4 separate regions of the Homo sapiens genome follow, and regions 2, 3 and 4 are each linked to region 1. The links are contacts of gene promoters, found by promoter capture Hi-C in human tissues and cell types (Jung and others, 2019). All regions are on one chromosome and are shown on one strand. Each heading gives the region's core, a stretch centred on a gene start or on the middle of the fragment in contact. The rest is flanking DNA. Distances are from core to core; before and after follow the strand shown.

Region 1 (2,893 bases), core at 195-2,694:
TACACAAGAAATTACTCACAATTATGAGAAATAGGACAAGCGCAGTGGCTCATGCCTGTAATCCTAGAACTTTGGGAGGCTCAGATAGAGAATCGCTTGAGCTCAGGAGTTCGAGACCAGCCTGGTCAACACAGTGAGACCTCGTCTCTACTAAATATTAAAAAAAATTAGCCAGGCCTGGTGGTGCACACCAGTAGTTCCAGCTATTCATGAGGCTGAGGCAGGAAGTTAAGCCCAGGAGTCTGAGGCGGCAGTGAGTTATGACAGTGCCACTGTACTCCAGCCTGGGCAACAGAGTGAGACCCTGTCTCAAAAAAAAAAAAAAAAATTAGGAGAAACGTTACAGAAAGTGTAGGAACTATATTAGAGGATATAACAGACAGGTAAGACTCAATTGCGCCCTGTCACATATGGCACATAATTTAGAATTACTTTTTTTTCTTTTTTTTTTAGAGACAAGGTCCCCCCACCCCAGGGCAGGATGCAGCGGCACGATCATGGCTCACTGCGGCCTCAAACTTCTGGGCTCAAGCAATCCTCCTACCTCAGCCTCCTGAGGAGCTGATACTATAGGTGTGCACCACCACGCCTGGCTTTTTTTTTAAGAGACAGGAGTCTCGCTATGTTGATCATGATGGTCATGAACTCCCGGGCTCAAACTATCCTTCCACCTACAGGTGTGGGCCACTGCTCCTGGCCAGGATTAATTACTTCTTAAATGAACTATGTACCCCAATTTTGAACAATGCAGCTCTGCTGGAAATGTCTGGGACTTAAGTAAAATGTGTAAAGCCATAACCTGATACACACTAGGCCCTCAAGAATAAATGTTAGTTATTTTCACTGGGTGCTGTGCCCCTCCAGAGAGAAACTGATTAGGTTTTGGATACTAATCCCCTAGCTCTAGGCCGCTAAGTAATACCAATCTAATAAGCATTTCAGAAATAAGTATAACAGGAAAGGAAGTAATATGTAATAAAAACATTCTGCATTTGCATCAAGGGTTTCCTCGAGATGTCGAGTATCATTATTCCCAATTTAAAGATGAAGTAACTGAGGCTCGAAAAGAAGAACAGGACCTAACAACATCGTACAGAAGTCCCAGCTCCAGGGCATCTGCTGGTCTTTCTCCACCCCTCCATAACTCTACAACCTTGGTCCAGAACAGGCCTCTGGGCCCCAGACCTCGGAGGGATTGAGCCTTTCCCAGAAGGCTTTGCAGCGCCGCGGAGAACTCTGGGATACAAATGGATACACAAATCCAAAGCAAAAGTCTAGACCTGGGCCCGAGAAACAGCCTCTTAAGCCCCCCAGGTGCCTTCTTCGGCTCGTTTGTGTGCTTACCTTTCCTGGAGCTCCCGCCATCGGGAGCCTCACTAAGCCCCGCAAAGGCTGGGAACAGCGCCATGACCACAGGCCGTACCTCCGTTCTTCTCTATAGGGATGGCGCCGGCGAGCGAGCGCCGGTCTGAGGACCCCTGCCGTCGCGGTGCACTCTGGGAAATGTGGTTTTCGCGGCGCTCTCTGGGGCTTGACCCCGAAGCGGGAGGGGCGGGGCCCAGAGAGGAGGGTCGTCAAGGGACTGGGGCGCGGCGGGGCAGGGAGAGGCAGGGCAAAGCAGGGTGGGGCGGGGCCAAGGGGGGCGGAGCGAGGAGTGACGGGTTCCTAGTGGTTGGGACCCTGTGAGAACCGGAACTGCGAAAACCGGAGAAGGGAATTGTTGACCGCGAAAGGGACTAAGGAAATTGGGATTCCAGTTCGACCCCTAAATTCACACCATCCTTGCTAACTGGGTCAACTTAAACGCTCTAAGCATTACTTTCCTTATCTGCAAAATATTGAGAAGATTAAATGAACATATTTATAAAGGGCCTAGCATTGAGTCCGGCCCATGAAAAGCACTTAATATGTGTTAGCTATTATGTGAATTACGACTGCAAGTTCGGCTCAAAGTCATGTGAGATATCCGAACTTCAATCAGGTTACCATATTAAATACCCCAGAACAAGGAAAAATGGAAAGTCCCATCAAGTTCAAGGGTCTTTGATAGTTAGGAAATACCTGTCTGTGAAGCATTCTTGACCCCGGTTCCTCCCACCCAAAATCTAATCACACTTGCTACCAGAAATATAGAGAGTAAAGGAACAACTTAGAAGACTTTGTACTACCAAGAAACAATTAGCCAAATCTAGAATATGGGAAATTATAGAAAACAACCGTGCTTCCTTAACATATCAAGGGCTTTAAGAGGGCAGGAGATTGTAATAGATACGAAGATCTTACAGACACATCAAGCAAATACAACATATTTGTGGCCTCATTATAATTCTGATTGGACAAACTGTAAAAAGACCTTTTTAAGATAGATGGAGAAATAAGAAGGTAGGCAGAGTACAAGCAATTCACAAGTAATTCTTGTGAATTCTGTTAGATGTACTAAAGTACTTATGTCACTGAGGTGACCCTTATTTATTTATTTTGAGACAAGGTCTCCTTCTGCCACCCAGGCTGGAGTGTAGTGGTACGATCTCTGCTCACTGCAGCTTCGAACTCCTCGATTCAAGCAATCCCCTCACCTCAGCCTCCCAAGTGGCTGGAACCACAGGCATACACCACCATGTCTGGCTTAATTTTTTTTTTTTTAATAGAGACAGGGTTTCACCATGTTGCCCAGGCTGGTCTCGAACTCCTGGGCTCAAGCGATCTGCCCCCCTCTGCCTCCCAAAGTGCTGGGTGCCTGTGCCTGAGCACCCCCCAACCCAGCCTGAGATTACTTTTTAAAGTTCTTATATATTAGAGATATATACTGAAATATTTGCAAGTGAAAATAGATAGGTAAATGAAGATATATTTATTGGGATCCTAGGGAGTTAAAGATCTTTAGTTAGGAAAT
Region 2 (2,831 bases), core at 110-2,609, 320 kb after region 1:
AGATTGAAAAATCATGGTTTCTCTCATAATTATTCAGGAAAAATAATACACAATTATGAAGAAATTTTTAGATTTATTTTATCTTCTTTCACAAATAATAAATTTACAGAACCCTCAAAAAGAACTTCTTAGAATTATAATTTTCTCAGTTCAATTCATATTCTTCACGAATAAATCAAGTCATGGTTGCCTCTATGCAATACCAACCAACTGAAAAGCTGGCAATGATCTGTTGAGTTGAGGGTGTACATAAAGATAGTTCTGGCTAAAGGCCCCATGCTGGCCTCATCAAATGATTTTTCTCTGTTAACCACAGCACCGTGAAAGGAACAAACCAGAAGTGCTAGAAATCTTGGTATTTCTGGAGTGCATTAGGGCAACATCTGAAGGATTTCCAACTTGGCTAATGATGCATATTCAACTGCCAAATTTCTAATGAGGCACAACTGAAACATATACATTTTAAAAACCTTATTTCTACAACTTGGCTAATGAATTCAACTGACCACTTCACCCTCTGAAGGAAATAAGGCAAATGCCAAACAAAACAAGAAAAAGCTCCCTGTGTTGATCTCAAGTAGATGCTAAAATACTTGCTTCCCGTGGAGCAACTTCAGCAGCTAAGCTTCCTGTGGGAAAGCCCCTTTGGTATGCCACAGGCAACTCGCCGGACAGAAATCCTCAGGCCAGGCAGATGAGAGAGAGGACATTAGTGATCAGAAAAATTGCAAGCCTTCTGAACTCTGTAAATGAATCTAAAGCAGCCTCATAAACTCCGTGCCCATAAACTGAACACCTGGCTAGACTGCTCAGAAATACCTAAAAGACCTAAAAATGTCACCACAAGGATGCTCACAAAATGCTTCCCTTATCAAAGCACCTCCACATAATTAATTCAGTTTCTCTCCCATGAAGAAGAACCCACTCATCCTTTTATCCACTTACCCACCCATCCACCCAGCCAACCACCCACCCATCCACCTATCCATCCATCCACCATCCAACCATCCACCTACCCATCCATCCACCATCCACCCATCCACATTATGCAATATCTATAATGTGATGCCAGGCCCTATGCTAACTTCTGGGGAGCATGGAGATGAATCATGCTAGTGCCTTTCCTTGATGAGCTCCCACCCCCGCCCCAGAGGGAGAGACCCAGAATGACCATCATCATCGTGCAGTGGGAGCAGTGCCCAGAGATAGGCATGCTGGGCTGCTACTGGAAAGCATCGGATGGGCTTCCCAGATCACCTGGCTAGAACCCAAGGATGTTGTGGCATCTAACCCAGGGCTCTCTTAGATTCCATTTCCAACATTCTCTAGAGCTGAACCAAGAATATAGAGAAGGCTGATCAATGCTGACCCTAGTCCATAAGACACATATCTTGTAACAATAGTAACTACAATTTGTGAAGTTATCGACTATTACGCTTCTTGTCCAAGAACAGCCAGCAAATGAGAGAAAGCCAGAACCTTGCTGCCTTGTTTAGCCAATTCTCCTTGAATTTCCCTTCAGTCCTGATTACAGGGGCCATGGGATTCGTGCATTAAGTTTTTTAAAAAGTGCAAACCCTGGTTAAATCTATTGCTCAGGAATCTCTCGTTAGTTACTCACACAGGGTGACCAACTTGTCCTGGTTTGTCCAGGATGTTCCTGATTTTAGCACTGCAAGTCCCATGTTCTGGGAAAACGCTCAGTCCTCAAGAGATTGGGATGGCTGATCACCCTATATGCACACATCATACCACACTTAAACTCAAGCTAGGACAGAAAGGGGAAAGCAAAGCAAGATCGTGTACCCTGTGCCACAATGAGTGATAAACAAACACCACCATGCCACCCCTGCCTCCTGGAGCACCAGGCTTTATGCATACTGTGGGCCATGCAATGAAAGGTGCTCTCAACTGTTTTCAGGATGGCTTTTCTCAGTAGGATGTGAGAGCCTGCAGAAGAAGCAAGTCATATCAATTCAGCATCTTCAGAAGCTTTGCAAACAATATTATGTTCTTCTTCACTATACTTTAGTACAGGGCAAATGAATTGGTTCAGCTGCCTGGGTTGAGCTTATGAGTGTAGGAACAGGTGAGGGTCTCACATTCAGATGCAGCCACCCAACCTGGATGTCTTCAAAAATCACCTCTTTGGATCCACTAGAGAACAAATATGTCTGAATTCTGGCAGTCATAATTAAGAGTTAACTTTCTTGTGCTATATCTGCAACCCCATCCCTTCCTGAATTGTGTTTTCTTTTTAAACAAAAAATGCAAAACATTAGTATAAACAGAATTGTGGGGAGAATATTTAAAACAAATAGTAGAGAAAGTACTTCTCATCAAAGTAGTTTTAAATTATCCATTTACATTTAAGAAGTAATACAAATCATTTTCACTTACTTAAAATCTTTCCCTTAAAGATTTTTGTTAGGACTGCAATTCACTAGAATAGTCCTAGTTAATGTGTACTTGAAATAAAATGAAAAACATTCTATATTTCACACAAATTCTAATTTAGGTTAGCCTTCTGCAATATCATCAGTTAGGTTAGCGGGATTTTATTACTCTTTATTCCCATATGAACTAATATTTTAAAAATCTCTTCGAATTTAAACTTAAGCAAAAGATGAACAAAAAAGAATTCAGGCCAATGGAGCAGCTGTTATATAACATGAAGTTATACTGGCAGCTCAAGGCAGACCACCACTGTGGCTGTTTTTAGAGAGCCAGTAAGATGTGCTGATTTAAGAAAAGTGAAACAGATGTAATGACCACTTTCTTAAGCATCCATGTGTGGGTTTTACAAACTAGGACTGGAGAATTTAAAACTC
Region 3 (3,164 bases), core at 196-2,695, 340 kb after region 1:
GGATGCGGTTTTCTGGCATGCTCTCCTCTCAACTCTACGAATCAAGTAGACCAAGCTTGCACATTGAGTAAGGGGTCTCCGGGGTCCTACTCAAATACTACTCCATCTGCTGCTTTGCCAATGTAGCTGTTCCTTGCAAAATGCAGTGAATTCACAAAATGGGCATTCCATTCCTCCTGTCTCCTCAATTGCCTCTCACCTTTTGGTCTTTTCAGTCTCTCTTCCCTGGCTTGGGGCACTGGGTTTTAACCCTTCAACCATGGCTGCCACTTAGCCCATGCCAGGACTAAGGGAGGAAGTAAGGAGTTGAGAGTGCGGCAGCCTGGGACATACCACGTACAAAATAGTTGCATGGTAAATGCTTGAATGAAGGCTGGACAGAGAATTGGGATCCATTCTTTTGGAGATCCTTTAAGGAGGGCCACAGCAAACATGGAGGCAGGGAGGAGTACTGGAGTTGCCAAGACTGGAGACAACGACATAGCAGAAAGGACAGAAGCAGGGTCGCTGAGCTATGGCCTGAGGGCCCATTATGACCTACTGCTTGCTTTTAGAGCCCAAAAGTTAAGAATTGCGTTTATAGCTGAACATACACCATCAATTTGGTGAGAGGGGGTATTAACTTTAAACCCAAATTAAGCAAAATGTTATCCCCTACCCCCGCAAACAACCCCATTCTTCTCATGCATGGATCTATATTACAAAAGTTGTACTCATTATATTTTGAGTTTCATTGATTAAAATTTTGCAGAAATTTGTTTTCTCTCGTTATACCTACATGCTATTCTTGGTTTTGTCTCTTAGCCTTTGAAGCCTAAAATATTTAGCATCTGACGCTTTAATTTGCTGACCCTTGTTCTAAAGGAACTGGGGGCACTTTAGGCTGAAGGAAAAAAGACAATATGACAACTGTCTTCAAAATTTGGTGGACTCAATAGGGAGAAGGAGCCATCCATTACCAGGGCATCTTTACTATGGAACATTCTCCCACCTGTGAAAAGAGGCAGATCTAGACACATGAATCTGGTACAATCTTCAGGATAGATCACCAGCTGGATAAAACATAGATTTTATGTCCTGTGGCATGCTACTTTTGCACTGAAGGGGAACACACACATATGCATAGTGGCCTGTGGATTCATAGTCAGTCTTTAGAAGAATACACAAGTAACTTCTTCTTCATGTTTCCCCTTGGCTCTGTTGTAATACTTCCCTTGTGCAAATATTACCTGCTCAAAATAGATAATAAGACCAACCAAAAAAAAAAAAAAAATTGGTAGACTGTCAGTGAGGTGGGGCTGGACTTGCCCTACTGCTCCAAAAAGACAGAATAGGTAGAAATTACAAGGAAACTCATTTTAGATCAATCCTTTCTAATAACCAAAGAGGAATCGAACAATATATATTACCCATCAATTGCTGTGCTAGCTACATTATAGCCATTATCTTATTGAGCTTCCTAACAGTCTCTGAGGTAGGAGCTCAGAGTAGCCAAGTATATTTCTCAAAGTCTCACAGCTAGGAAAGGGCAGAGCCAGAATTTGAACACAGATCTCCCTGACTCCAGGGCTGAATTTTTTTTACTGTACAATGGGTACTTCCCTATATAAGGGTCAAGGATCATCTGCCAGAGTTATTATTTCATACAAAGGAGATTTTTACATTAGAAAGCAGATTATTAATGCCACCAATAACAATAGTAACATGCACTTCTTGCAGTAACATACATTATCTCTTTAATCATCACAATAACATTCCAAGGTAGATCTTATTATTATCTATGTTTTCCATATAAGGGGACAGGTTCAGCGAGGTAATGGAATCTGTTCAAGTTCATATTCAGCATGTAAAGTAGCAGAACTGAGATTATCACACAGGTCTGATGTTAAACTATGAGGCATTGTTGAGACGGCAATGTCATCCAAAGTGATCTATAAATTCAATGCATCCCTATCAAAATTTCAACTTTTTTTTTTTTTTTTTTTTTTTTTTTGCAGTAATGGAAAAGCCAATCCTCAAACTCATATGGAATTGTAAGGGATCCAGAAACAAACTGGAAAAAGAACAAAGTTAAAGGACTCATACTTTCTGATTTCAAAGCTTACTACTAAGCTACAGAAATTAAAATAGTATGGTATTACATAAAGATACATATACAGACCAAAGGAACAGAATTAAGATTCCAGGAAAAAATTCATAAATTTATGGCCAATTGGTTTTTGATAAGGGTGCCAAGTCCATTGAATAGGGCAAAGAATAGTTTTTTCAACAAATGGTGCTAGGACAACTGGATTTCCACATGCAAAAGAATGGAGTTGGACTCCTACCTCACACCATATACAAAAAAACTATAAATGGACAAACAGCTCAAATATAAGAGCAAAATTGTAAAATCCTTAGAGGAAAACAAAGAATTAAACCTTCATGACCTTGGATTTGGCAATGGATTCTTAGTTATGACACCAAAGGCATAAGCAACAAAATAAAAAATAGATACACTGGACTTAATCAAGATTTAAAACTTTTGCACATCAAAAGACATTTCAAGAAAGTGAAGCTGGGCATGGTAGCTCATGCCTGTAATCCTAGCACTTTAGGAAGCCAAGACGGGAGGATCACTTGAGGCCAAGAGTCTGAGACCAGCCCAAGCTGATTTCTACAGTCTCGTCTCTACAAAAAAAAAAAAAAGCAGGTGTGGTATCTCTAAAAATATAGCTGACCAGAGTTTATTATTTAGACTTTAAAATTGGCAAAAGACTTGAATAGTAGTTTCACCAAAGAAGATATACAAATGGCCAATAAGCACATAAAAAGATGCTCAACATCATTAGTTATCAGGGAAAAGAAAATCAATCCCACAATGAGATATCACATCACACCTACCAGAATGTCTATATTAATAATAATTTAAAAATAACAAGTGCTGGTGAAGAAGTGGAGAAATTAGAAACCTGTGTATTGCTGGTAGGAATGTAAAAATGGTACAGTCACTGTGAAAAACAGTCTGGCAGTTCCTCAAAAAGTTAAACATAGAATTATCATATGACCAAGCAATTCCACTCCTAGGTGCAAACCCAAAAGAACTGAAAAAAGGAACTCGGAAAACATGCTGTGTCTTTATGTGCAAGTGTTGATGTTGGCTGGGGACAGGAGAAGGAAGGAAA
Region 4 (2,800 bases), core at 268-2,767, 510 kb after region 1:
AGAAATGCAGTTGGTGGGCCGGGCACGGGGGCTCACGCCTGTAATCCCAGCACTTTGGGAGGCTGAGATGGGCGGATCACAAGGTCAGGAGTTCGAGACCAGCGTGGCCAACATGGTGAAACCCCATCTCTACTAAAAATAGAAAAATTAGCTGGGCATGGTGGCACACATGTGTAATCCCACCTGCTTGGGAGGCTGAGGCAGGAGAATCGCTTGAAACCAGGAGGCGGAGGTTGCAGTGAGCTGAGATGGCACCACTGCACTCCAGCCTGGGCAACAGAGTGAGACTGCGTCTCAAAAAAAAAAAGAAAAGAAAAGAAATGCAGTTGGCGCTCCTGTGTGAATCCCTGTTTAAAGAGCCTCACACTGTTAACTGGAGCTTTGCAGAACTTGCTCATATGCTTAGGGTCAACAGCAATTCAAGGTGGGCCAAGATTATACATGGCTTCCATGTCTGATCAGATAAGACACCGGAGAGTTGCTAGGTTTTTCAAATTGCTAGCAATTACTATCCCTATCACCATGCTTTTTTTAAATTTAATTTAATTTAATTTTTTTTTTTGAGACAGAGTCTCGCTCTGTTGCCCAGGCTGGAGAGCAGTGGCGTGGTCTTGGCTCACTGCAAACTCCACCTCCTGGCTTCACGCCATTCTCCTGCCTCAGCCTCCCGAGTAGCTGGGACTACAGGTGCCCGCCACCACACCCGGCTAATTTTTTTGTATTTTTAGTAGAGACGGGGTTTCACCATGTTAGCCAGGATAGTCTTGATCTCCTGACCTCGTGATCCACCCATCTCGGCCTCCCAAAGTGCTGGGATTACAGGCGTGAGCCACCGCACCCAGCATCACCATGCTTTTCTGCATCCAAAATAGGTCACCTGCAGCAACGTGGGAAGCCTTGTACATTGAGCTGAGGATTTTTTCAGTCTACTGCACCTCCTTCTCGTCCTAATAATAACCACACTGTAGAGGTGGGGGGAGCTCTTGAGGCCCAAATTGTGAAGTACTGCCCAGGCCTGCGCCTTCCCCTCTGCCCACATCTCATGCAGGGCCACCATGCCTGACGTCTGCAGCACATGCTGACGCTTCCTGTTCTAGGCTGCCTTTCAAAGCTTTGTTGCGTACAACTGGCTTTACACCCTCCCACAGTCTTGGCAGCCTATTAATAACTACTATGCTTTTGGAGCATCCCAACTCTATAGACACTTTCTTTAGACTCTACAGTATAAAGAATTACCCCAGAGAATGTTCCAGTCTTCTGCAGCCTTAGGAACTGTTACAGAGAAAAACTGACTGAAGGATAACATTACCCCTGTTTTACAGATAAGGACACTGAGGACCAGAGAGGTCTGATGCTCTAATGATTGGCACTCAGGCAGCACTGAGAGGTGGGAGCAGACCTGCTGAGCAGGTGGGACTTTGAGGCAGAGGCTTCCCCTGGGTCTTCCTTCCACCACAGGCTGCTTCTGGCTTCTGGCCAGGCTGGTCTATCTACTATTTTGGTTGTTTTTTAGCCACTTGTACTTGAACCAATGGAGGGACCCAGGGTGACCTTAATCTGTTTCCTGTGAGTTTTTCTAATTTTAATTTTTTTTTTTTTGAGACGGAGTCTTGATCTATTACGTAGGCTGGAGTGCAGTGGCATGATCTCAGCTCACTGCAACCTCCGCCTCCCAGGTTGAAGCAAGTCTCCTGCCTCAGCCTCCTGAGTAGGTGGGATTACAGGTGTCCACCACCACACCCGGCTAATTTTTGTATTTTTAATAGAGACGGGGTTTCACTATGTTGGCCAGGCTGGTCTCAAATTCCTGACCTCAGGCGATCCGCTCGCCTTGGCCTCCTAAAGTGCTGGGGTTACAGGTGTGAGCCACCGCGCCTGACCTTAATTTTTTTTTTTTGAGACAGGGTCTCACTTTGTCGCCCAGGCTGGAGTGCAGTCACGTGTTCTCAGCTCACTGCAACCTCCACCTCCCGGGTTCAAGCGAATCTCCTGCCTCAGCCTCCTGAGCAGCTGGGATTACAGGTACCCGCCACAACACCTGGCTAATTTTTGTATTTTTAGTAGAGACGGGGTTTCACCATATTGGTCAGGCTGGTTTCGAGCTCCTGACCTCAAGTGATCTGCCCATCTTGGCCTCCCAAAGTGCTGGGATTACAGGCATGAGCCACTGCACCTGGTCTAATTTTTGATTTTTTTTTTAAGAGATGGGGTCTCTCTCTGTCACCTGGGCTGGAGTGCAGTGGTGTGATCATAGCTCACTGCAGTCTCAACCTCCTGGATTCAACAGATCCTCCACATTCAGCCTCCCGAGTAGCTGGGATTACAGGTGTGTGCCACCACACCCAGCCACTTGTGAGCTCTTGATGCACTCATCAGCACCAGTTAGAGCCTCAAACAGCCACAAAGACACAAACTGGGAAGGACTGACTGGTGGTTTGGCTCAGCTGTACCATCTGGAATGATAATACAAGTCGGATAGAATCAACACTGATATTTACTAAAACACCCAGGGGTGCTTTATATACATTATTTTTACAAAAATGAGATTCTTGACTCAATCTGAGTATGTGGCTCACCATCCTTTGCCACATCCTGCAGAGAAAGTCCACATGCAGATGGGGTAGCAGCCAGCCAGAGCTATCCCTGTGGTGATCAGTGGTCCAAGGCTAGCCCCTCCCCCCACACCTCTACACGGTAGCTTAGTCCACTGCATTTGATGGCCTCTGGTTTTACCCTGGGGATTACTTCTTCTCTGTCTTATAAATAGCCAAACATTTGCCCTGGTTAGCTGGTAATCCGT

What was found. The method cuts DNA at HindIII sites, captures the fragments that hold promoters and counts their contacts. A contact is called where the count stands out against the background at its distance.
Region 2: a fragment that was not itself captured here is called in contact with the fragment with the promoter of NRDE2 in region 1 in 2 of the 25 tissues and cell types used here (dorsolateral prefrontal cortex and hippocampus).
Region 3: a contact is called between a fragment that was not itself captured here and the fragment with the promoter of NRDE2 in region 1, in 4 of the 25 tissues and cell types used here (dorsolateral prefrontal cortex, hippocampus, mesenchymal stem cells and 1 more).
Region 4: a contact is called between a fragment that was not itself captured here and the fragment with the promoter of NRDE2 in region 1, in 1 of the 25 tissues and cell types used here (dorsolateral prefrontal cortex).

Annotation. Positions count from the first base shown.
Region 1 is chr14:90,330,497-90,333,389 of GRCh38, forward strand. It overlaps NRDE2 (NRDE-2, necessary for RNA interference, domain containing), which reads right to left and starts at 1,445. Exons shown (of 14, transcript NM_017970.4): 1 at 1,345-1,445. The coding sequence starts at 1,408. RefSeq lists an enhancer at 1,199-1,378 and a silencer at 1,529-1,678. The HindIII fragment of the contact is 6,388 bases long and covers 1-2,893 here.
Region 2 is chr14:90,648,771-90,651,601 of GRCh38, forward strand. The region is part of intron 13 of TTC7B (tetratricopeptide repeat domain 7B); the gene reads right to left. TTC7B-AS1 (TTC7B antisense RNA 1) reads left to right here. Exons shown (of 5, transcript NR_110134.1): 5 at 1-121. Among named protein-coding and RNA genes, the nearest start is that of TTC7B-AS1, 7.6 kb to the left of the region's middle. The HindIII fragment of the contact is 3,294 bases long and covers 1-2,831 here.
Region 3 is chr14:90,666,862-90,670,025 of GRCh38, forward strand. All of the region lies in intron 9 of TTC7B (tetratricopeptide repeat domain 7B), which reads right to left. Among named protein-coding and RNA genes, the nearest start is that of TTC7B-AS1, 26 kb to the left of the region's middle. The HindIII fragment of the contact is 4,615 bases long and covers 1-3,164 here.
Region 4 is chr14:90,841,868-90,844,667 of GRCh38, forward strand. No RefSeq gene overlaps it. Among named protein-coding and RNA genes, the nearest start is that of LINC02321, 15 kb to the left of the region's middle. The HindIII fragment of the contact is 3,190 bases long and covers 1-2,800 here.